Regions from separate parts of the Homo sapiens genome. Here all the other regions are linked to region 1. The links are contacts of gene promoters, found by promoter capture Hi-C in human tissues and cell types (Jung and others, 2019). All regions are on one chromosome and are shown on one strand. The core of a region is centred on a gene start or on the middle of the fragment in contact, and the rest is flanking DNA. Distances in the headings are between cores, read along the strand shown. Region 1 holds the start of GNG10 (G protein subunit gamma 10). Region 2 overlaps SNX30 (sorting nexin family member 30). Region 3 overlaps SNX30 (sorting nexin family member 30).

Region 1 (3,395 bases), core at 459-2,958:
TCCAGGATGGTAAAGATTGCTGCAGGAAAAAAAAAAAATCACAAATATGACCAGCAGTCTCCCTTGTCACAGCAGCTGGGTCTTCAGTCACAGCGCATCTGCGTGCCTGCTCAGGGGCCACTCCCTTAGTCCCCTTTCCTCTGCCTTAGAAGAAAACCTGGCCTCCTATTTCACAAAGAAAAGTGTCACCATACAAGTTTAGCCCATATCTAGAAACTTATCTTTACACACACCCTTACCTTCTTTCTTCCTGTCTCAGAAGCTGTGCCACCAATCCCCCACCCCCCCGTAGCCCTGTCTCCTCTACCAGCAATTGGCTTCCATTTGTTTCTTCCCTGGAACCTAAAAATATAATTTGTTACTTCCTCTCAACCCTAAAACATGGCTTTTCATTTCCTAAGTTAAAAAAACACGTTATTTCCTCTTTAAAACTAGGTTTCTTTAAAAAGAAAAAACGTCTGCCTACCCTATGACAGTCCAGATTCTGCTTTTACTAACACATAAGCCACCAGACCTCTGCATTCCACAGCCCTCTCTCCCTTTACCCTGTTTATTATCTTCACTCCACTTAGTACATGAAGCGATGCTATGTATCCGTTAAGTTGCTGTTTACCTTCCCCTCCAGAACCACCCTATTCCCTGTAGCAGTGCCAGGCACACAGCAAAGGAGAAACTGAGGCACAGGGACTATCCTGGTTGTGTTCCTTCTTACAGATCTTCTGCAAATAATGCTGCACTCGTAGCTAAACACAGCTCTACAACAGACGCCTTTTAGCCAACTGACTAAACGCTGGACATGTTGACTGAGCCCCCAGTTTTTGGAAATCCCTACTTCCTTGCTCGGAAACCTTGCTGTCTCTTATTTCCTCTTCTCTAGGCCTTGCTCGGAAACCTTGCTGTCTCTTATTTCCTCTTCTCTCGGCCACCGGCCATCGGTGTGGCTGGTCCCCGGGTCCCAGGCTCTGAGCTCTGCTCTTCATAGAAGAGGCTTTTTCGCCCCAATGCACTTGAATGACCTCTTTCAGCCCTGGGCGCTGAGCTTCAGGCCATGAGGACAAATACCTCCCGGATGACTCCCCGGAGTCCCCAGGTCCGCAGCCGAACTCATCATTTCCCCAAACCTGTTCCCCCTCCTCTCTACCTCGGCGGGTGGCAGCGCCGTCCACCCTGTCACGACGACAGAAACCCGAGCATCCTGGCTCTCCTCCCTCTCGCTCTCATCCTACCAATCCATCACCAATTCGCCGCCCTGCGGTGGCCTCCCCAGCCCTGGGTCCACCCTCCCGGCCCGCGCGTCGCCGGCATCCCTTGCGCCCTCCGAGGAACTGACCACGGCCGCCTTCTGGAGTGGGCGCACCCCCAGGGACCGGGACCGACCACGACCGCGGGGCCCCCCAGGCGCGGCTTCCTCCCGTCAGGCCCGGGCCCCCGGCTTGCCCCGCGCCCTCCCTCACCGCGGACCCCACCGCCCCCGCGCCCCGCCGAGGCCTCGCCGCCGCCACCGAGTCCCCCGCTGGCGCCCGGTCCGGGCCGCCGGCCTCCTCTTCTCACGCCCCGCGGGCGGAAGGACCGGAGCGTGGGTACCCGGGGCCCGCACCTTGATCCTCTCCACGCCAGCCTCCAACTTGAGCTGCTCTACCAAGCGCTGCAGGGCGCTCGCGCTAGCCCCGGAGGACATGGCGGCGGCGCTGGGCTCCTAGGGGCTGCTGGGCCCGGCCGGGCGGGGAGGAGCCGCCAGCCCCGAGCGCGGGTGCCGCCCCGGGGCGGGGAAGCAGCTGCGCCCGCCCCGCCGCCCCAGCCCACCCGGCGCGGAGCCGCTTGCCAGAGACAGCGGGGACCCCAGCGAGCTGGCAGTGCTCTCCGCTCCTCAGCGCCTGAAACCTGGGTGGCACCTGCAGCTGGGCCTGGAACCGAGGCGGGGACCCGCAGAGCGCGGCGTCCTCCAGCGAAGCTGGCGCCCCTAGGATGAGCAGGAATCGCGAGGGCGTGGGACGCGAGGATGGAGTGGGCGGCAGCAAACACGCACCCCTGAGAAATGAGAACTGGAGCCAAGGTGTGACATGAGTTGGAGAGATAAGGGGCCTTGCCAGACAGTATCACCGGGGAACCAAGGAGAGTTCATAGGATTTTCATGAGGCAGCAACAGGTTTCTAAATGACCCTGTTACTGTTTCACGGAGATCCTACCAGTTGATTTGGTGGAGTATGGTAAATTGGATAAAATCCCAGACCCTGACATCTTTGTGAAACATACAGAATAAAATTAAATTCAGCGTTTCTCACTCTCATCTCACCATTTAACTGTCATCATTGTTTCTATTCTGCTGCTTTTTTTTTTTTTTTTTTTTTTTTTGAGACAGGGTCTTGCTCTGTCACCCGGGGTGGAGTGCAGTGGCGTGATCACAGCTCCTTGTAGCCTCCACCTCGTGGGCTCAGGTGATCCTCCTGCCTCAGCCTCCTGAGTAGCTGGGACTACAGACACACACCACCACGCCCGGCTAATTTTTGTATTTTTAGTAGAGACGGGGTTTCACGATGTTGGCCAGGCTGGTGTTGAACTCCTGGGCTCAGGTGATCCTCCCACCTCAGCCTCCCAAAGTGCTGGCATTATAGGCCTACTGCATTTTTTAATAAGTGTTTTACAAAACTGGGATCGTTACTATATTTAAAATTTTTGTGTTGCTTTTTTCCATGTATCATTAATACGTCATTATTCTTGTACACCATTGTATTTGTCAGAACTCACTTAAACTGAATATTGCAAAAGGTAATATATTGGCTTGTGTAACTGAAAAGTCCAGGGACTTTAAACTAGTGAATTCAATTACCCAAATAATAATTTTGGGGCTCTCATCCTCCTTGTTTTGATTCTGCTTTTCCTGAGATTAGCCTCATTTTCCTTGGTGGTAGATGGACTTCTCTAGTGGTATGAAGGAAGGCACCACACTTTCACTGTCCCCATCTAGCAAACCCAGGAAAAATAGTACCTCTTTTCTTTCTAATCGTTCCAGCAAAAATCCCCATAATGAACCTCACTGGCTGGTATTAAGTCATGGGCCCACCCCTGGCCCAATTACTCTTTGAAGGCAAGGATGTGTGGCATTGACGTGCTCAGATTAGCTGTGCCTGGGCCAAAGGGAGACTTGCACATTTGAAAGCCCTCTCTAGTGGCCAATTTCCTCACCACAAAGAAATTAATATATATCTTAGTAAAGAGATGAAAGTACATGTTGGGAACATTCAACAATCAATTCTGAGACTGATGAATAGGACAAAATAGAATGATTTCATATTTAAAAGATATGGCAAAGAACTCAGTGCAAAGATATACATACTGGATTAGGAAAGGCTCATCATAGATCGTGAGAGCTGGACTTTGGAGATACGTGTCTTGCA
Region 2 (3,395 bases), core at 349-2,848, 1.2 Mb before region 1:
CACACTTGTAATCTCGATCACCAACGATGTCTATATTATTAAATCCAACAGATATATTTTGCCCCCTTCTTAAAACATTTATCTTGGCTTCGTGGAGGCAATCCTCTTCTTCCCTCCTGCCACACCAACCCTTCCTTTGTGGGCTCCTTTGCTACTTGTTCTTTCGTCTTAAGGTGATAGATCAATAAATATTACCATGCCACAGGCGCAGGCCTTCACACTCTACGCACCTCAATCACATCTCCTCATACAATCTCCATCGGTCTCAGAGATTTAAACACCATTCATACACTAATGACTCCCAAATTTCTATTCCCACTCTAGACTAACTCAAAACCAACTGCCATGACATCTCCACTTTAATGATTAGGAGGCATTCTGAATTCCACATGCCCAAAATAGTGGACTCCCAACTGCTCCACCTGTTCCTCCCTGGACCCTCCCCGTCCCAATAAACAGTACTGCGATCCACCCAGCTGCTAAAGCCAAAAACCCCAATTCCTTTCTTATTTTGCATCACTACAGCAGCAAGTGCCATTGGCCCATCATCCAAAATATACCCCAAATCCACCCACGTCTCTACCACTGCAGTCCAGGCTCCACCACCTAGTTTTCTGCCCTTGGCTCCCTGTGACAGCCTTCTGAACGGCCTTCCCAATCACCACTCTCATCCTCTACAATCTAGTCTCCATACTGTAGCACTAGTTGTCTTCTTAAAGTGAAAATCACATCCTGTCATCCCCCTGCATAAAACCAAATGGCTTCTCTTCTAGTCCTTAGAATAAAGTCCAGACTCTTACCAGCCTTTAAGATGGTCTTTAAGACGCTACTGCATTTGGGAGGCCAACGTGGGTGGATCATGAGGTCAGGAGTTCGAGACCAGCCTCACCAACATGGTGAAACCCCGTCTTTACTAAAAATACAAAAATTAGCCGGGCGTGGTGGTGCGCACCTGTAATCCCAGCTACTCAGGAGGCTAAGGCAGGAGAATCGCTTGAAGCGGGAAGTGGAGGTTGCAGTGAGCTGAGATCACGCAGCCTGGGCAACAGAGTGAGACTCTGTCTAAAAAAAAAAAAAAAAAAAGCTACTGCAGGACCAGGCTCCTACCTCTCTTTGACCTCACCGCTTACCACTTACTCCTTTGCTCACCAGGTTCCACTCCCCAGCCTTTCTGATCTGCAAAGACTCTGAGCTCATTTCAGCTTTCGGACTTTGCACTGGCTGCTCCCCTCTGCCTAAAATGCTCCATCCTCCGACCCTTGCGCAGCTCACTCCCATATGTCTTCCAAGTCTCCAGCCACAGCCTTTTCCATGTGGCTTTCCCTTACAACCTACTCTTACTTCAGACCCTCACCCCACCCCAGTCATTCACCAAGACCCCTGAGATAAGCATGCGTATTGACATAGATAAACCTCTTAAAAATAAGATGTACAATGTGCAATCATTGTATATTTGTAAGTGTCGCAAATTTACCAAATTGTCCGATTCAATTACATGCTTGCTGACCACCTTCTATGGATAAGGCAGTGTGGGAAATAAGACAGTCCTGCCCAAACCTTCAGGAATAAAGCTTCTCCAACATTTGGCCTAGTCATGACAATGCTAATACTCAAAAGGCACTGCCAGAAAAGTGGTGAGGACTTCAAGAGGGCCTCTTTCAACCCATCACTACCCTAATTTCATTATACACACACAGTTTATAGGATGTGAAATCCTATGTAAGGGCTCACCTGTGGATGTCTGCGAGGTATTTAACTTGAGTCTGGGCTTAAGGGTAACTAACCTTTTGTACCTTCCTGTCCCCGCACACATATCCTTGTGACACATGCCTTCAACCGTCTTTCTAGTACAAGCTGTTCTCATTGTTCACTGCTTAAACTCACATTGTTCCATTTGTTCCGAGTGCCTTGATAATGACCCTATTTTTCTATGCTCTCTACCTCCAAAGGGAACAGAACATACCTAGCCACAATTGTCCTGAAAGAGATACAGTTGGAGGCCAGGCTTGAAAAGCCTAAAGTCACCTAGTTTGCCTCTTGGCAAGTAGTAAACACACAGCTACAAGCTGATTGGTCACTAAGGAGTATAGTCCTGTGGCCATGCAACAGAGAAAAGATTTACTCACAAGGGTCTGTTTCTTCGTGTCAACAATGAGCAAATGAGAAAGATGATCCTAAAGGCCCTTTCGAACTCAGAGAGGAACCCCCACCACAGCTCCATCAGGACAGGACTTTTCCCTGGCATTTTCCCATCCAGGGAGGGACCAGCCATCCACCATTTCAAATTCCTAAGGCACAGGCCACTACTTCCAAATGATGAGGACAAACACTCACCATTAGGTTCCCTCAAGGCCATGATGAAGATAGACTGACAGAACCTCACCACACCAGTAACTCCTCACCAAAACCAACCCAGGACTTTCTCAGCTCTGAGGACCATTCAGCAGCTGATGAAGAACGGGCCACAGGCCTGATGTGGGGGCTCACGCCTGTAATCCCAGCATTTTGGGAGGCCAGGGCAGGCAGATCACTTGAGGTCAGGAGTTTGAGACCAGCCTGGCCAACGTCGTGAAACCTGTGTCTATTAAAAACACAAAAATTAGCCAGGCGTGGTGATGTGCACCTCTAATCCCAGCTACTCGGGAGCCTGAGGCAGGAGAATCACTTGAACCCGGGAGGTGGAGGTTGCAGTGAGCCAAGATCGTGCCACTGCACTCCAGCCTGGGCGACAGAGCAAGAGTCCATCTCCAAAAAATAAAGAACAGGCCACAGCCAGGCCTGTGGCAAGTCCTCTGCTCCACGCTTAGTTTCCATACTGCACAGCAAAGTCTGCCCTACTTAAGTTTCAAAAATCAGAAAGCCATTTTGGAAATGGAACTATATGACTCTCTCGGAGGAAGAAAATATACTTAAAAATTCTTACAGAGCAGCAATGTGAAAAGGTGGGCAAGCCACTTAAGACATCTATCATTCTCCTGGTGTCTTTAGTCCCAGCCACACAGACCCTGATAATCCCAGACACAGTCTTTGCTTTGCCATCCAATCACTCCTATCGTGCCCAGGGCACTCTGCAGAGACATTTTCCTGGTGAAAAGTGGAGGAGCAGTGGCCCTGTTTCTTATTAATTGGACTCAGCTCAGCTACTATCGGGGATAGAGCTTGGGTTTCAGAGACTGCCAGTCCACACTTCCTCTTTTCCATGCCCTTCCCCAGACAAGACTGTGTACAATCAATCCCATTCACTCAGCCTGATTGACCTGATTTTTCAGGCTCAGTAAACAAGAAACTCCATACATATGCCCCACACATGGGGGGTAAAGAAAGAGCAAACAAATGTTTCTTTGATGTCTAACTTAAATTACACAAGCTATGTCTCCCAGTGTAATGTTTTATAG
Region 3 (3,395 bases), core at 537-3,036, 1.1 Mb before region 1:
ACATACATGTACATGTTTAAACAGAAAAATACAGACATGTATGCATGGCCACAAAAACACGCACCCCAGCAGTGGCACCAGAACAAAGCTCACTGCTTAGAAGAACAGCAGGTGCCTCCTCCAAAAGGTAGAAGCAGCACGTTGGTCCCCACAGTTGCAGACTGGAATCTGAGTACACCCTAGTCTAACAGCAGTCAGCCCCGTCCTAGGCCAAGATCCTCACCCTTGCACACATATCCTGAGATGAGCACATGTCAAAAGCATTGGTGGGGTACAGTGACAGCCTGTCGTTGCTCCTCACCAGCTGAGAGATTCCCCACGTCCCCTCAGAGCTCCCATTTCGTCACGTGTAAAATAGGGATAAAGTGCCTCTCTCGTACAGTATGAATGAGAGAAAACTAGTGGAGCACTCAGCCAAGTGCGCCCTGCATGGAGTAGCTCCTCCAACACCAGCTCCCTTCCCTCACCTGCCCTCACCCTTCAGCAATGAATGCAGCTCTCTTTTTGGTTTGTTTTTTGAGACAGAGTCTCACTGTGTCACCCAGGCTAGGGTGCAGTGGCGCGATCTTGGCTCATTGCAACCTCCGCCTCCCAGGTTCAAGCAATTCTCCTGCCTCAGCCTCTTAAGTAGCTGGGACTACAGGCACCTCCCACGATGCCTAGCTAATTTTTGTATTTTTAGTAGAGACGGGTTTCACCATGTTGGCCAGCTGGTCTCAAACTCCTGACCTCAAGTGATCTGCCCACCTCAGCCTCCCAAAGTGCTGGGATTACAGGCATGCGCCACCATGCCTGGTCCAACATAACCCTCTTCTATGTGTTCACTTGAGCAACAGACCGGGAAGGAAAAAAAGAGAATATGAAACAGAAGGAGAAATGAATGATGGAGAGTGAAGAGAATCCACAAAAAGCTCACCACAGTGAAGCTAATGAGGCTCACTCTTCTCTTCCCACTCACACAGTCTATCCGTCACCTCCTAAGGAGACACCTAAATGTCCCGCTAATACATTGCATACAGGACCAGCTAGAGCCCTCACAGGCAAGGCCACAGATGAAGAGAATCTAAAGGGAGAACACACTTTCGCCACCTCACATCACACGTGCCAGCAGCACCCAATTCCCTGCCAATCCTCAGACCATCAGTAATTCCCCCAAGTGCCACGAGCACTTTGTATGGGATGCCTTACTCACCTAGCTAATGCCCATTTGTGCTTCAAGACTCAGCTCCAAAGATACCTCCTCTAAGATGTGTTCTTTCTCAACCAACTTCCCCACCCACCAGTACTTGCCCAGTCTGGGCTGTGCAAATCCCCCCCCCCCAAGTTCTCTCATCATGCCCCTGTACCTAGCTCTTTCATAACACTTATGATCTGTGCTGTCATTGCCTGTTCATCCACCTGCCTCTGGCACTGAACCATAAGGTGTGAGAAAGCATGGACCTGGTAGCTGTTATTCTATCTCCAGCATGGTATCTGTGGCAGTTGGTATTTTTCAAAGGAAGGTCCTAACTATATCTCTGGTCTTACATGCTTATCTGTCATGTGACCTGGCCACTTCCCCATCAAGAGATGATGTCTATCAACCCATCCTGGTGAATCTGGGTAGACCCTCTGACTATTTTGACCAAAAGAATATGGCCGGGCCGGGCGCAGTGGCTCACGCCTATAATCCCAGCATTTTGGGAGGCCGAGGCTGGCGGATCACCTAAGGTCAGGAGTTCGCGACCAGCCTGGCCAACATGGCGAAACCCCCTCTCTACTAAAAATACAAAAATGTGCTGGGCTGGTGGCAGGTGCCCGAAATCCCAGCTACTCGAGAGGCTGAGGCAGGAGAATCACTTGAACCCGGGAGGCGTAGGTTGCAGTGAGCCGGGATCGCACCACTGTACTCCAGCCCGGGTGACAGAGCAAGACTCCATCTCAAAAAAAAAAAAAAAAAAAAGGAATATGGCCAAACTGATCCTGTGCCAATTTCAGGCATAGCCCTTATATGGCCCAGCAATTTCCACTTCCCTGACTCTTAGAATGCTCATTCTTGGGACATGCCCTCCAGGTACCCATCCACAACACTTTGAGTAGCCCAAGCCACATGGTGATGTCACACATAGGCACTCCAGTCAACTGTGGCCACAAGTGAGTCACCTTAGGCAACCAGTCCAATGAACCTCCAGTTGACTGCAGCCCCAGCCAACTTCTGACTCCAAATACAAGAGACACCTAGAGCAAAAAACACATACTTGAGGGTAGTCAACCCACAGAACCCTAAAAGATCACAGTACATTTGTGTTTTAACCTACTTAGTTTTGGGGTGGTTAAGCAATAGTACATAACCAAAACAATGTCTGCCTAGCAAATGAGGGGTAAAAGATAAAGGAACAATTAAATTGGGTATGATACAATGCGTGGCACATAGCAACCACTCAGTTTAAAAGCTGTTGCTGTTAATACTATTAAGATTACATGGAGGCCAAGTGTGGTGGCTCACACCTGTAATCCCAAAGCTTTGGGAGGTTGAGGCGGGAGGATCACTTGAGGCTAGGAGTATTAAGACCAGTCTGGGCAACATAGTGAGACCCATCTCCACAAAAAAAAAAAAAAAAAAAAAAAAAAAATTAAAAACTAGCTGGGTGTGGTGGTATGCACCTGTAGTCCCAGCTACTCTGGAAACTGAGGTGGGATGACTGCTTGATCCCAGGAGTTTGAGGCTGCAGTGAGCCATGACTGCACCACTGCACTCCAGCCTGAGCAACAGAGCAAGACTCTGTCTCTAAATAAATAAATAAATAAATAAATATCTTTAAAAAGATTATATGGAAGACGAACAAACTAGGAAACTGGTTAAAGAGGGTGTTACAGAATCCCGCCAGTGAAAAGTAATGAGATACACTGAGTCCACAATGGTGACGGGCTGAGCTCAAGTGTTTGATTCTTGTGTCACTCCAAGTTCCAAGGGAATGACAAAAGGAATATAAAAATAAAAATAAACCCATTAAAAAGCCAGAAAACAGGAACGGATGCCATCAATCAATAAGAAATTTTGAGGAATTTCTGGAAGAGATACAGCAAACAGGATCAAATTTACAGAAAAATCAGATTTAGCCAGAATTGAGGAACCAAAACCTAAAAGGTCAGTGGGAAATGCTAAATCTGGGAAGACATGGGATTTGCTATATAGGGTCTGGAAAAATACTCAAAATCAGAGACCACAGAGACTGAGAACAGAAGTAGGCACTGGGAAGGCAGGGGGCGGTGAGCAAAGGACTGTGGAGTGCCAAGTTGCTAACGCAACTGGAAGAAGGAAAAGAGGAAGGGTATTGTGGGAAGAGCATGAAATTCTCTACCTGCAGGGTAAACTCTTCCCCACTTCCTTAGTTCAGAAGGGTCCATCCAGCCTG

The links. Contacts are between HindIII fragments. The study calls those that stand out against the background at their distance.
Region 2: a contact is called between a fragment that was not itself captured here and the fragment with the promoter of GNG10 in region 1, in 1 of the 25 tissues and cell types used here (lymphoblastoid cells).
Region 3: a contact is called between a fragment that was not itself captured here and the fragment with the promoter of GNG10 in region 1, in 1 of the 25 tissues and cell types used here (dorsolateral prefrontal cortex).

What each region holds. Positions count from the first base shown.
Region 1 is chr9:111,659,918-111,663,312 of GRCh38, reverse strand. GNG10 (G protein subunit gamma 10) reads right to left here and starts at 1,708. Exons shown (of 3, transcript NM_001017998.4): 1 at 1,598-1,708. The coding sequence starts at 1,678. The region is part of intron 1 of DNAJC25-GNG10 (DNAJC25-GNG10 readthrough); the gene reads right to left. RefSeq lists enhancers at 648-697, 898-997, 2,068-2,127 and silencers at 1,288-1,407, 1,438-1,887. The HindIII fragment of the contact is 18,619 bases long and covers 1-3,395 here.
Region 2 is chr9:112,841,315-112,844,709 of GRCh38, reverse strand. All of the region lies in intron 6 of SNX30 (sorting nexin family member 30), which reads right to left. Among named protein-coding and RNA genes, the nearest start is that of SLC46A2, 48 kb to the left of the region's middle. The HindIII fragment of the contact is 3,705 bases long and covers 1-3,395 here.
Region 3 is chr9:112,776,818-112,780,212 of GRCh38, reverse strand. All of the region lies in intron 1 of SNX30 (sorting nexin family member 30), which reads right to left. Among named protein-coding and RNA genes, the nearest start is that of SNX30, 28 kb to the right of the region's middle. The HindIII fragment of the contact is 6,730 bases long and covers 1-3,395 here.